Linked DNA regions of Homo sapiens: all the other regions are linked to region 1. The links are contacts of gene promoters, found by promoter capture Hi-C in blood cells and fetal thymus (Javierre and others, 2016). All regions are on one chromosome and are shown on one strand. The core of a region is centred on a gene start or on the middle of the fragment in contact, and the rest is flanking DNA. Distances in the headings are between cores, read along the strand shown. Region 1 holds the start of RBBP8 (RB binding protein 8, endonuclease). Region 2 has its middle 7.2 kb from the start of RIOK3. Region 3 has its middle 17 kb from the start of RMC1.

Evidence for each region. Contacts are between HindIII fragments. The CHiCAGO score rates a contact against its expected background, and 5 or more counts as called.
Region 2: a fragment that was not itself captured here is called in contact with the fragment with the promoter of RBBP8 in region 1 in 4 of 17 cell types (total B cells, activated CD4 T cells, total CD8 T cells and 1 more); the score reaches 6.3 in total B cells.
Region 3: a fragment that was not itself captured here is called in contact with the fragment with the promoter of RBBP8 in region 1 in 2 of 17 cell types (total B cells and naive B cells); the score reaches 7.2 in total B cells.

What each region holds. Positions count from the first base shown.
Region 1 is chr18:22,930,756-22,935,489 of GRCh38, forward strand. RBBP8 (RB binding protein 8, endonuclease) reads left to right here and starts at 2,573. Exons shown (of 19, transcript NM_002894.3): 1 at 2,573-2,809. RBBP8-AS1 (RBBP8 antisense RNA 1) reads right to left here and starts at 3,009. Exons shown (of 5, transcript NR_198963.1): 1 at 2,833-3,009. It overlaps MIR4741 (microRNA 4741), which reads left to right and starts at 2,594; the gene lies at 2,594-2,683. RefSeq lists enhancers at 2,303-3,143, 2,827-2,956, 3,317-3,366 and a silencer at 2,617-2,696. The HindIII fragment of the contact is 3,221 bases long and covers 1,537-4,734 here.
Region 2 is chr18:23,443,738-23,448,492 of GRCh38, forward strand. No RefSeq gene overlaps it. Among named protein-coding and RNA genes, the nearest start is that of RIOK3, 7.2 kb to the right of the region's middle. The HindIII fragment of the contact is 3,752 bases long and covers 296-4,047 here.
Region 3 is chr18:23,483,636-23,488,446 of GRCh38, forward strand. No RefSeq gene overlaps it. Among named protein-coding and RNA genes, the nearest start is that of RMC1, 17 kb to the right of the region's middle. RefSeq lists an enhancer at 4,608-4,777. The HindIII fragment of the contact is 164 bases long and covers 1,562-1,725 here.

The DNA of each region.
Region 1 (4,734 bases), core at 1,323-3,822:
AAACCTTTTTTATTTTTTATTTTTTTAATTTTAAGACAGGGTCTCTCGCTCTGTCACCTAGGCTGGAGTACAGTGGCACAATCATAGTTCACTGCAGCCTTGAACTCCTGGGCTCAAGCAATCCTCCCACCTCAGCCTCCACAGTAACTAGAACTAGAGGCACGAACCACTGTGTCCAGCTATTTTGGTTTGATTTTTAGAATAGGAGACAAGATTTCACTATGTTGCCCAAGCTCATCTTGAACTCCTGGCCTCAAGTGATCCTCTTGCCTCAGCCACCCAAAGTCTGGCCCAAGACGTGGTTTTTTATCTCAAGAAATTTACAGTCCAGTGGGGAGACAGAATTAATTAAATAACTAAAACAATAAAAACTGTAAGATGGGGAGGTTACATGGTACTGTAGGAGGATCTAGTAGAAGAGACTATTGAAATAAGATAAAAACATGATTAGTAGATAGCTGGGGCAAAGAGTGGGGGTAGGTTTGGTGGAGAACTCCAGGCAGAGACAATAGCACGCAATGGCCTAGGAGACATCAAAAGTCTAGTGAGACCAGAGGACAGAAAATGTCTGGAAATAAAGCCAAAGGGGTAGCAGAGGCAATTCAAAGGGGCTTCCTTCACAGAGTAACTGGAAGCCACTGAAAGGGTTTAAGCAGCATAGTGACATTAACAGATTTACTTTTCAAGATCACAGTAGCTGCAGTATAGAGAAGTGGTCTCAAAGTAGACACAATTTAAGGTGGAGGAGGGAAGATGTATTTTTATTCTATTTTTTATCCTTTAAAAATGCTTTTAAAATGGATTATAATCATATTAGCTAAGAAATACTAATTATGGCTAGCTTTTGGGCACATAGTATATATCTGAATACTAAGCAGTTTACATATATTCATTTAATCTTAATACCCTGTGAGGTTGGTACTATTATTATCCTCAATTTACAGGTAGGTAAAATGGGACAGCGAGCTTAAGCAGTCAGTCCAAAGTCACTCAGTAAGGAAGTATTAGAGCAGGATTTAAACCCAGATGTCTGACTTCAGAGCCTGTAACTTCATTAGATCATGTACCATTTTTCAACAGTACATGTATGTAATTTAAAATTAAATATATATATGGAGAATAGAAGTTCAAATTTTTTTCTGAACACCAGTGAAAACAAAGATTTAGGAGGGGTGGTTGGTAGCGTGGATGTGGAAAGGAGCCTAGCAGTAGACTAGGTAAGAAATAACAGTATCTTGGATTATGGAGGTAGTGATGGAGAGAAGGGGATGGATTTACATGTTTAGTAAGTAAAATTGGACTGCGTGATGGCTTGGATATGGAAGTTAGGGATGAATAAAGTGTCAAGGATGACTCTTTGGTTTCTGACTTGCATAAATGGATTAGAGAGTGAGACACAGGCAGAGGCCATAGGAACAGGTTGGGTCATTCTGCTCAGTTTTTCTTTGGACCACAGTAGAGACCACAGCACACTGCTCTTTCAATACTCTGTTAAATGACAAACTTATTACAGGTTATTTCTGTCATAAACATAAAAGCTTCACTCTGTCAATTATGTTTCCTATCTTGCGTTAAAAATTACATAGTCAAAATTTCATCCATTTTCTTTTAAAAATGTGGAGTTAAGTCTTATAAAATGGGGAAGTGAATGATAGTTGCTGTAACAGGCTAATAGAAGGTTTAGCACCCCTCTTCTGTATACTAACTTTTTAAGTTATATTTATTCATCCCTTAAGATGTGGGACAGGTGGAAAAATTACCTTTCCACTTTGTATTTATGATTTCTAAGTACTAAACTTTTAAAGCCTGTTAATATTATCCCTTCCCAGGTCTTAGAATAATTACACAAAAGTACTGGACTGGTTTAAAAGATATTTGATTCTAGTCTATTTTGTTCATTTGTAGAATTTCTAGTGGTCTAAAAACGATTCTTTTACAAATCAGGAGAAATAGGAATACCTACTATCGGTTTGAATCTCAAACGAACAGCCACAAGAAAAATGGACTTTTTAAAAAAAATTATCTAACAGCATGTTGTCCCAATAAATAATGCTGAAGGAGATTCCTTCTCGTTTCAAATTTGCCAGAAACTTCCCGTTTAACCTCAGCAAAATACAGATCGTTTTGATCTATGGCGTTACCGCACAACCCTGTCAGGTCACATCACTAAACTGCAGATAACAGCGACAAGGCCGAAAACTATGTTAGACGGATCCGCGTCCATACCCCCCATCAGTTAATTTTAACTCTTCATTCGGTACAGGTCACTCTACACATGCTTCCCTGCAAAATGCTTAAGCTAGACACAGTGTACAGATAACTTTCACAGAACCGCAAGGGCTTGATGCTCCCCCAACAGAACGGCTTGAGCTTTCCCCAGCGCAATTCAGAAATGCTGTGGCGGTCGCCAGACTCTTCGGGTAGCTCCCGGCAGCTCCGAGGTAGCGCTCCCCTCCCCAACCATCGCCCTCCGGGATGGGCCGCACCGAAGAGCCCGCTCCTCAGCTAGGGCACGAAGTGCGCCGCCGCGATGGGCAGCTGGAGGAAGGGGCGTGACGCAAGTGGAACTCCCGCGTGACGTCGCGCGGGCTCCCGGGCGGGGCGGGTCCGGCCGCCTCCGAGCCCGGCCGGCAGCCCCCGGCCTTAAAGCGCGGGCTGTCCGGAGGGGTCGGCTTTCCCACCGAGGATTTGGCACTCTGGTGAGGGAAAAGGGCGAAAGAGAAAAGCGAGCAGCCGTCCTTTCACAGCCTCAGAAAGTGCTCGCTTCCCTTCGGGGGCTTTCGCGAATCCCGAGGCAATCTCGGAGGCGGTGAGTAAAAGCAATCTCTTTACCCCACCCGGAGCTCTGGGTCGGAGCGACTGCTTCTGGTCTGGAGCTGCGTGCTTGGCGAAGGGCTCCCGGGGTAGGGGTGGCTCCCGGCTCTGGGGTTGTGTCTGATGAAATAGGCCGGGCCCGGGCTACACTCGGTGGTGGTGGACCGGCGGGAGGACGAGCGCTACCTCAGTACTACTTCTGGGTCTCCCGCGCGGGCTGAGGAAGCGCCTTTCGCCGCCAAGCCCGCCCCGCGCATGCGCCGACTGCGGCTCGCGCGCGCGCTTCGGAGGTTTTTTGGCCAGACCCGCACGCGGAACCGGCGCGGGCACCTGGGGAGAAATGGATGGAGAAGGGACCTGGCTGGAAAGCCTTTGCCCCGCTGCTCTGCTCCGCCCATAAGAGGACCCCTGAAATGTCCCGTGCAGTTTGTTCAAGTCCCCTGTGTGATGAAATGTGCCTCTCGCCTTACCCGTGTGAGAATACCTGTGGTGTGGCAGCGAGTATTTTGGTGAGCACCTGCAGTGTAGTGGTTTATACTAAGGAATACACACAAATTACAGGCCTTTGAGCCCAGAATGCAACTTGGGAGGTAAGACGTGACGTTCTGAGAGATTGAAAAATGTACATTGTCGTCGTGCCTCGAATAACGGTTCATTGCAGAGAGAGATGCTAACAAAAAGTGCCGGGCATGCGGGTAGGTGGAAAGGGTTTTGCGAGCCAGAATTTGCAAGTTGAATGTTTTGTTTTTATGTTTTGTTTTTAAGGCACTGTACATCACTTACTTGAAGATAGATACGTAAAGGATGCTTATTTTACACTCTTTAAACGAATATGTTAATACTTTTTCGGTCATTGAAGTAATTAAACCTTCATTTTAAACTGTTGACTTAATAGAAATCGTTTATGTCTTCTTTTTTTTTCTTTTTGCTGCAGAGAGGTATTTTTTCTTTATTTTATTATTATTTTTTATACTTTAAGTTCTAGGGTACATATGCACGACGTGCAGGTTTGTTACATATGCATACATGTGCCATGTTGGTGTGCTGCACCCATTAACTCGTCATTTACTTTAGGTATATCTCCTAATCCTATCCCTCCCCCCACCCCACGGCAGGCCCCGGTGTGTGACGTTCCCCTTCCTGTGTCCAGGTGTTCTCATTGTTCAGTTCCCACCTATGATTGAGAACATGCGGGCTACAGAGAGGTATTTTACAGTTATTGGTCTCATGACTTGATTTCCATCCCTGACATAGCCATGTCCCAGCTGTGTGACCTTGGACATTTACTGCCTTACGCCTCTTCCCCCAACTCTAAAATGAAATTATAGTAGCTGTCTTACAGAGTTTTTCTGAAGGTTAGGTAGAATATAAATATTCTATAATATATAATTATATATTAAATAATATATAAATACAAATATTAATATTAATATTCTATAGTTTCTGGTATGTGGGAAACAAATGGTGACTTTTATTCACAATTATATATAGGCCCATTTGTTTATCTGTTAGAGTTAAAGATAGAATAAAAACCTCTTTGGTAACAAAACTAATGCAGTGCACCTAATTCTACTTTTAAAAACTTTTTTACAGAAATAAATGTACACAAGAGAAATACTGGAATTATGAACCCCATTGTATACGCACCCACCCAGCTTCAGAAATTGTTGAAGTTCAGCCCTTGTTTCATCTCTTCACCCAACATCCATTTTTGTTTGTTTTTGCTGGATTTTTTTTTTTTCAAGCAAATCGCAGAGTATATCCCTTTACCTGTAAATATCTCGGTAAATATCCCTTTAACAGATAAGGCCTTTCTAAAAAAAAAACAAACAAAACCGCATCATTATCATACCCAAGAAAATTAATAATTTCCTAATATCTAAAATCCAGCTCATATTTAGTTTCTGGATTATTTTTTAA
Region 2 (4,755 bases), core at 922-3,421, 510 kb after region 1:
CGAGCTCTGCCTCCCGGGTTCACAGCATTCTCCTGCTTCAGCCTGCCGAGTAGCTGGGACTACAGGCGCCCGCCATCATGCCCGGCTAATTTTTTTGTAATTTTTTTTTTTAGTAGAGACGAGGTTTCACCGTGTTAGCCAGGATGGTCTCGATCTCCTAACCTGGAGATCCGCCCGCCTCGGCCTCCCAAAGTGCTGGAATTACAGGCGTGAGCCACCGCGCCCCGCCCATTATTTTTTTTGATAATATATTCATAAATGCTCAATAAATGTTTATTGAATGAAAAAAGAGGGAAGCTTGGATAAAACAATGGCTTGTGGGATTTTTCCCCCACAAATCTTTTTTTAATAATAAATTTTTATGATAGCACACATGCAGAATTCTCAAAAGATGACAGAAGCAGTAGCACACATTTTGAAACTCCTTAAATCACCCTTAAAAAACAGAGAGAATATAAATATCTCCTATGAATATAGATGCAAAAATCTTCAACCAAACACTAGCAGAAGGAATTCAGCAACATGAAAAAGAATATACAGCTTGACCAAATGGGACTTATCCCAGGAATGCAACGTTGGTTTAACCTACAAAACCAGTTCATATAATACACAATATCTAATAAAGGATAATTTATTATATTGATATAATAAAGGATACCTAGACATAGATAAGACATTTGACAAGATTCAACACCCCTTCGCAATAAAAACATTCAGAAGCTATGGCCGGGCGTGGTGGCTCACGCGTGTAATCCCAGCACTTTGGGAGGCCGAGGCAGGTGGATCACGAGGTCAGGAGATGGAGACCATCCTGGCTAACACAGTGAAACCCCGTCTCTACTAAAAATACAAAAAAAAAAAAAATTAGCAGGGCGTGGTGGCGGGCGCCTGTAGTTACAGCTACTCGGGAGGCTGAGGCAGGAGAATGGTGTGAACCCAGGAGGCGGAGCTTGCAGTGAGCCGAGATCGCGCCACTGCACTCCAGCCTGGGCGACAGAGCTAGACTCCACCTCGAACAAACGAACAAACAAACAAAACATTCAGAAGCTAGAAATAGGAGGGAACTTCCTCAATATCATAAAAGGTTTCTATAAAAACCCACACCCTAACATCATAGCTAATGATGAAAGAGTGCTTTCCTCACTAAGATCAGAAGCCAGACTAGAATAACCAACTTGTCACTTCTATTCAACACTGTGTTGGAGGCTCTAGCCAGGACAACAAGGCAAGGAAAAATAAATAAATAAAAGGCATCCAGATTTCAAAAGAAGAAATAAAACTATCTCTAATACAGAAGACAAAATTTCACATATAGAAAACCATAAAGAATACACTAAAAAACTGTTAGAACTAGTAGATGAATCCAGCAAGTTGCAGAATGCAAGATCAATATACAAAAATCAATTATATTTCTATACACTTGCAATGCACGATCTGAAAATAAAACTAAGGAATAAGTTTTATTTAAAATACCATAAAAAGCATAATACTTATGAAAAATTGGCAAAATAAATGAAAAATTTATTATCTGAAAACTACAAAATATTTTTGAAGGGCATTAAAGAAGACCAATTGAATTAATTAATAAATAAATAAAATTAAGCAGAAAAATATCCCATGCTTATGGATTGGAAAACTGGATATTATTAAGATGGCAATAATCCCCAAGTTGATTCTACAGATTCAATACAGTCCCAATCAGAATTCTACCTGGTTTATTTTTCTCTGCAGAAATTAACTAACTGATCCTAAAATTCATATGGAAATTAAAGAGACCCTTTATAGCTAAAAATCTTAAAAGAGAAGAACAAAGTTAAAGGATTCATAGTTCTTAATTTCAGAGATTATTACAAAGCTACACTCAAGACAGTATGGTACTGGCATAAGGATACACATACAGACCAATGGAATAGAACTGAAACCCCTCACGTTTATGGCCAGTTGATTTTTGACAAGACAATCCGATGAACAAAGAACAGCACTTTTTAACAAATGATGCTAGAAGCCAGGCACAGTGCTTCACACCTGTAATCCCAGGACTTTGGGAGGCCAAGGCAGGAGGATCACTTGAGCCTAGGAGTTTGAGACCAGCCTTGGCAACATGGTGAAATCCCGTTTCTACAAAATATAAAAATTAAAAAAGTAGCCAGGTGTGGTGGCGCACACCTCCCAGTTACTCAGGAGGCTGAAGCAAGAGAATTGCTTGAGCCTAGGAGGTCAAGGCTGTTGTGAGCCATGATTGTACCACTGCACTCCAACCTGGGTGACACAGCAAGACTCTGTCTCAAAATAAATAAATAAAAATAATTTTCCTTTTGTTTATCCCTTATAGTCGATCATTATATATCAATTTTAAAAGATACTATGCAGTAAAGGGAGCAAAACAAAATCTTTGTTGTTAAAAATGGCAATGGGTTAGATAGGCTTAAGAACTGCTGAGTCCCAGCTGACCCTAACTGAACCATATCTGTAACATTTCATCTAATAATCTTATGAAACTACTCAGCAGTCACTAAATATACTATGGGCTTTCCTGCCCCTATGCCTAGTCTTAGGCTGTTCTTCCACCCAAACTAGCGTTACAGCTTCTCCCCAGCGTTCATGACCTACTTTGGTGCCACGCAGCCTTTCCAGATCTCACTACCCCACAATGAATCCTGAAATGTTTGTGTCTATAGCTGTCATTTGGAAATAAATCATGCACTCTTTGAGATAGAGGTGTTGTATTGTTATTTAATGTTATTGTGTGACTATTGTTATCTCTCCAAGTGCAATCTCACAGTTCTTTGTTTTTCCCAAAGGACTGGGGGCATCCTAGGTAGTTAATAGATAGTTGTTCATTGCCTGAAACAGCTATTTGCAGAATAGACTTATTTCAATATTAAAAACTAAAGAGCCTTATTTCTGTTCTCTTTAGAGACCAAAGAATCTGCTGATTCATGTGTTTAGACAGGGCAGATTCTCAAATAGTTTTGTTCCTGCTGAGAACCAGTGAGTTTGGCTGGGTGCGGTGGGTTACGCCTGTCATCCAAGTACTTTGGGAGGTCGAGGCAGGCAGATCACGAGGTCAGGAGATCGAGACCATCCTGGCTAACACGGTGAAACCCCATCTCTACTAAAAAAAAAAATACAAAAAAATTAGCTGGGTGTGGTGGCGGGTGCCTGTAGTCCCAGCTACTCGGGAGGCTGAGGCAGGAGAATGGCGTGAACCTGGGAGGTGGAGCTTGCAGTGAGCCGAGATTGCGCCACAGCACTCCTGCCTGGGCGACAGAGCGAGACTCCGTCTCAAAAAAAAAAAAAAAAAAAAAAAAGACAGAGAACCAGCAGTGAGTTCATCAGCAGAGAAGACAGGGAGTAGGAGCTGGAGCCAAAGCCTCTAAACATTGCTTACTCTGCCTGACAGCAAAATGGCCGTTTCCCCATTCAAGGACTCACTATTAAATCACATAGGACTAAATGCTGTTATTGGTAAACCACATTTTTCCTATTAGCAACATTTGTAAATGTAGAATTTGCAAATATTGTGCATGTCCTTCTATCTTCCTTTTTAAGGAGTACATAGTTGGTGGCATCAGGTATGTATCTTAACTGTCAACAAGCAACCATTAAAATTGTTAAACCACAAAACCCATGGGAACTCATAAACCATTAAACCCATAACAAGGGATTAATCAACTTCCCTTGTCCTTACAGCCTGCCATCCCTACTTTCTTGCCTCATTTAAAACCTTAGGGTCTTCTGGAACTATTCATTTCCCTCCAGGGCAGGGCAGCATTCTTCACTCTCCCCAGCACAGCTCCCAAAATGTTATTCCTGGCCCCTCAGGTTGTCAGGTCTCTCCAGTCTCTAACCATTCCATTATCATGACCTCTAAATTTCCTTAGCATCATCTACCAATCTCTTGGGTACAATCTGCACATTGTCTAAGACTGTGGCACCGGTACATTCTCTTCCAATCTACCTCAAGTCCTGCCATCTTGCTGGGTGGTTTTAGGGTCCACGCATATCACCCATCCAATACACTGACATTTTTATCCTGATCCGTTAAGCTTCCCAACCTCAACCTCACCACCTCTTCATTATGGCTTCCTCTGACCTCAGAATTGCCTGCATCTTCTCTACCTCTAAAATCCTTCAGTAGCCCACTATCTTTGTTACTTTTTTTAAAAATTGAGGTGAAATTCACATAACATAAAATTAACATTTTAAAGTGTAAAATTCAGCATTTAGCAGATTCACAATGGTGTGCTGCCACCACCTATATCACCCCTAAAGAAAACCCCATTAAGCTTACCCTTGAAGCAGTCACTCCCCATTATCCCCTCCCCACTCATTCCCTAGAAACCCCCGATCTGCTTTCCATCATTATAAATTCACCTATTCTGGATTTTTCATATAAATGAATTCATAGAATATGTGACCTTTATGTCTGACTTCTTTCACTCAGCATCTTGTTTTTTTCAATGCTCATACACATTGTAGCATATATCAGTACTTCAGTCCTGTATTAGCTTGCTAGGACTACCTTAACACAATACCATAGACTGGGTGATTATACAACAAACATTTATTTTCTCATAGTACTAGAGGCTGGAAGTTAAAGATCAAGGTACTGGCAGGGTTGGTTTCCTCTGAGGCCTCTCTTCTTGGCCCACACATGGCTGCCCTCTGGTTGCCTCTTCCCATGGTCATCTCTGTGTGCATGAGTGTGGTGCTAGGGTTTCTTCCTCTTTTTATAAGGCCACTAGTCATACT
Region 3 (4,811 bases), core at 394-2,893, 550 kb after region 1:
TCACACGACTACACTCCAGCCTGGGTGATAGATAAAGACTTGGTCTCAAATAAATTAATAAAATGAAAATATATAAAATACGGAAATAGGGATATTTTGTCTCACATTAAGTTATCAAAATAAGGATGACTAGATAACTTTTATTTCAACAAGATAATTACCAGTTTTCTTTTCATAAAAATTAGTTTTTCTTGCTTACAAAAGTAAGTCATTTATTTGAATTTAAATATTGTAGGAATTCAGAAATGTTCAAGTAAAAGTCCCTCGGCCAGGCGCAGTGGCTCAGGCCTGTAATCCCAGCACTTTGGGAAGCCGAGGTGGGCAGGTCACCTGAGGTCAGGAGTTTGAGACCAGTCTGGCCAACATGGTGAATTCCTGTCTCTACTAAAAATACAAAAATTAGCCGGGTGTGGTGGCACATGCCTGTAATCCCAGCTACTTGGGAGGCTAAGGCAGGAGAATCACTTGAACCCAGGAGGCAGAGGAGCTGAGATGGTGCCACTGCACTCCAGCCTGGGCAACAGAGCAAGACTCTGTCTCAGAAAAAAAAGTAAAAGTCCTTCATATTCCAAAGACCATTGTTTATAGTGTGGCATACATCCCTGCAATTTTTTTCCCCTCAGCATATGGTATTTCCTTTTTTAAAAAACCTTTGAACAAAAAGCAGGATGAAGCGAGGCAGCTGATGGGGAAATGTTGAGCACGGGAGACTCTAAGGAAGATGAAGACAATAGGCCCTAAGATGTGTTAGGAGTACATTTCTTACTGCTCATTTGGGCTCCGGGCATCAGAAGAGATTGTTTTCTGCACCTTTTGAAATTCCAAGCTCTATAGGAGCAGAGAAAAGCTCATCTGATTATATTTTCAAACCTTGATCCTTAGGTTTTTGAAGACAATATTTTTCTATTGGATTTTTGTCAGGATTACATAAAAATAAGTTATCAAAGTGTGTTTTATACTTGGAGACATCAGTTTACTAATTTGAAAGCCTCTTGTTTTTATTCTTTTCCGATTTGTTTCCAGTGTAAAAATAATACAAGGTTGCATTTGGAACAGCATTACTTTTACCATCCTAAGCTTTCCAACTTTCTCCCAGACTTGGCTAGCTTTTTGAGGAGTTAAGATCAAATTCGGTAGATAAGAAAGTGGCAGATGGAGGGGTGGGGAAGGTGGGGTATTCATTACAGAATACATGAGTGAGCTACTACAGATAGCTCTATAAACTTGAGGGAAAAAAATCTGCCACAGGTCTCGGCAGCTTGGGTGGTGGGAGGAGCGGCAGCAGCTGGTGAGCCCAGCTTCCAGAAGGCTCTGGTTTCGCCATTGCCCGTAGGCACCCGGCAGGCCCCCTCCCCACCACCAACATGCCCAGGAGGAAGGTCAGCTCAGTCAAGAGGGCTGTGAAGGAAAAGCCCAGGAGGAGATGGGCACAGTTGTCCCCTAACCCTGCTCCTGCAAAAGTAGAAACGAAGCCAAAAAAGAAGGCAGCAGGAAAGGACAAACCTTCAGACCTAAAAGTGCACACAAAAGGGAAAGGGGGAGCAAAGGGAAAACAGGCTGAAGCTTGAGTCCCTGCCCACCTCCATTCCTATCTTGTCTAGCATGTTTAATTGGCAATAAGTTTTTTTGACTCTAAGTCTCTTGGCCATAGGGGTCCCACTAGGGGACATGAAGGACCCAGGGCCTGTAGCATGCCACCCCAGCATCAATATGGGCCAGAATGAAAGCTTGGCCATCAACACTGCCTCTGGGATGCGTTGACAAAAAAAGAGAAAATATAAACTAAAAAAAAAAAAAAAAAAAAAAAATTAGAAGCCCCCAACAGAATGGATCTCTCTCTTGGCCAAAGGGAATCCAAACAACAACCGAAACAGCCTGAAAACCTAGTTCAGGTCATGACAGGAAGCTGGGAGTCAGTCACGCCTCGCCATACCTTCCCCCACTTTGGAATTCAGGCACAGCTGACCAAGCAAAAGGGCTTCACACCTTTGGAAAGGAAAACCTTTTGGCCGATTCCAAAGGGAATGCGTTAAGGCTGCTCTACTTTCTGTTACCTGGTTTTACCACTTTTAGGCCCATTAATGGTGATCTTATTGTTAGTATTTGGCCCATTGGGCCGAGCATGATGGCTCACACCTGTAATCCCAGCACTTTGGGAGGCTGAGGCGGGCAGATCATGAGGTCAAGAGATTGGGACCATCCTGGCCAATATGGTGAAACCCTGTCTCTACTAAAAATACAAAAATTGGCTGGGCATGGTGGCACGCGCCTGTAGTCCCAGGTACTCAGGAGGCTGAGGCAGGAGAATTGCTTGAACCTGGGAGGCGGAGGTTGCAGTGAGCCGAGATCACACCACTGCACTCCAGCCTGGTGACAGAGTGAGACTCTGTCTCAAAAAATAAATAAAATAATAATAATAAAAATATTTGGCCCATGCGTATTCAACTTCCTTATAAAGTTTATATCTTCTAGGTTACAGCAACTCCATGTAAAGATGATGGTGATGCAAGGATTTCAGCCAATTCCTGTCTCAGCATGGGACTCTCCTGCTAATGCAGCCTGGGATCCTTAGACCAGCAGCCAGAGATTTCCAATCCTTTGGTAGGCAGGGCCAGCGCCCTTAAATCAGCAAGAAGACGACACAGATGACTGACCTCCTCCCTCATCAACCCTTAAGAATAAGGGATGGAAATCTCTGAAGGGGGAATGAGATAGGAAGATCACTGGGTGCTCGCAAGAGGATGGAAGAATCCACACAAGAGCTTAAACAAGAGCTAGGCAAAGAAACTGTGGGATAACAGAAAACCCAAAATCAGGAGGAGAAGGCTGGGTTTGGTGGCTCATGACTGTAATCCCAGCACTGTGGGAGGCTGAGGAGGGCAGATCACCTGAGGTCAGGAGTTCGAGACCAGCCTGTGCAATATGGTGAAACCCCTTCTCTACCAAAAATACAAAAAAAAAAAAAAAAAAATAGCTGGGCATGGTGGCATACGCCTATAGTCCAGCTACTCGGGAGGATCACCTGAGCCCAGGAGACAAAGGTTGCAGTGAGCCGAGATCACGCCACTGCACTCCAGCCTTGGCAACAGAGACAGGGTGACATGTCCATGACTCTTCAGTGCAAACCCAAATCAGGGAGAAAGGGGGTGGTACCTGGGGGTGTGGGACAGTGGGGGGTCCCTGAAATCCCCCCTCTTCCAAAATACCTAATGATTATTTCACCCCCTAATTAAAGAAACACCCATAAAATTAGAAACCCAAACTCCCTCTGTGTGACTCATTCTCACAAACATGCCTGCACTTCTCTCTTCAGTGCATACTATCACTTTGCAATAAAAGCTTTTTGCCTTTCCCTTCATTCTGACTTGTCCCTGAATTCTTTCTCGAAAAGGTGTCAAGAACCTGGAAACCAACTGGGGCGGGGGTCTTACCAGCATCTGCAGACCCTCCTGAAACTTCTGGAAACCATAGGGGGAAAAAAGCAGAAATCACCCACAGTACAAGACAATCACCATATACATTACTCCTGACACTTGTTATATACATATGTACATGCAAATGCAAATGTAGAAAGAAACATGCATTCAGGCCCGGCACGGTGGCTCACGCCTGTAATACCAGCACTTTGGGAGGCCGAGGCGTGTGGATCACCTGAGGTCAAAAGTTCAAGCCCAGCCTGGCCAACATGGCAAAACCCCATCTCTACTAAAAATACAAAAATTAGCTGGGCATGGTGGCAGGCACCTGTAATCCCAGCTACTTGGGAGGCTGAGGCAGGAGAATCACTTGAACCCGGGGGGTGGAGGTTGCAGTGAGCCGAGATCGCACCACTGCACTCCAGTCTGGACCACAGAGGGAAATTCCGTCTCAAAAAAAAAAAAAAGAAAGAAAAAGAAAGAAAGAAAGAAAGAAAGAAAGAAAGAAAGAAAGAAAGAAAGAAAGAAAGAAAGAAAAGAGAGAAAGAAAGATGCATTCAAACATAAAACACTTCTGAAATGAAAAAGCAGGTTCCAAAACAGTGATACGTAGTCAAGATTTGCCAGCAAATACATACTTTAGAAATAGCTCTTTGTAAATATTATTCATCCTCATTTTAAAACAAAAAGGACTTTAGAAAGTTTAAAGAACAAAGTAAAAGCCACCTGAAAACATGCCAAGTAGTGAGAGCCACTATACAAATTTGGCTACATATGCCTTCAGACATCTGTCATAGAGTCTAACAAAGACTATAAAACAAAAATTAAAGCAAACAAAACTCAGCAAAACAGAAAAGCGGAACTTAAAATAAAAATAAGAATAAAAATAAACAGAAAAGCCTATGTGTTGTTTTAGGTTTTAGAAACTGTCAGACGCACATTTTAAGCTGCTGTAAAAGGAAAACAAGCATGTCAAGTGCTTATCTTAAACACCAGGAGTTATATTGAGCTTTTTTGGTGGCTCCGGAAACACTGGCTCATAGTAAACTAAGAAAGGAGAAGAAAAACAAACTAATGAACTAAGCGCTGATTCAGTAACCCCAGCAGTGGGCAGGGCAGCCAGGTATCCATCAAGGGTAGAGCTGGCTCGAGGCTGCACTTAAGGTTTCCCCCTATTTTAGTTGACCTGTTCCTAGGTCAGAGTCCCCTCCAGGGCCCCAGGACTGCCTCTAGCAGGCTCTGTACCCCAGATTTTACTGTCCCAGTCCTGAATCTGCCTTAAAAAAAGTTTTAACAGCTTTTCAGCTTCTTAGCTTTCCTTTTCTGCTCAGTGTCTCAACCTCTCAGTCACCGCTTTCAAAGCAGCAAGTTCATTGTGGAACAAAGCGGCAGCAA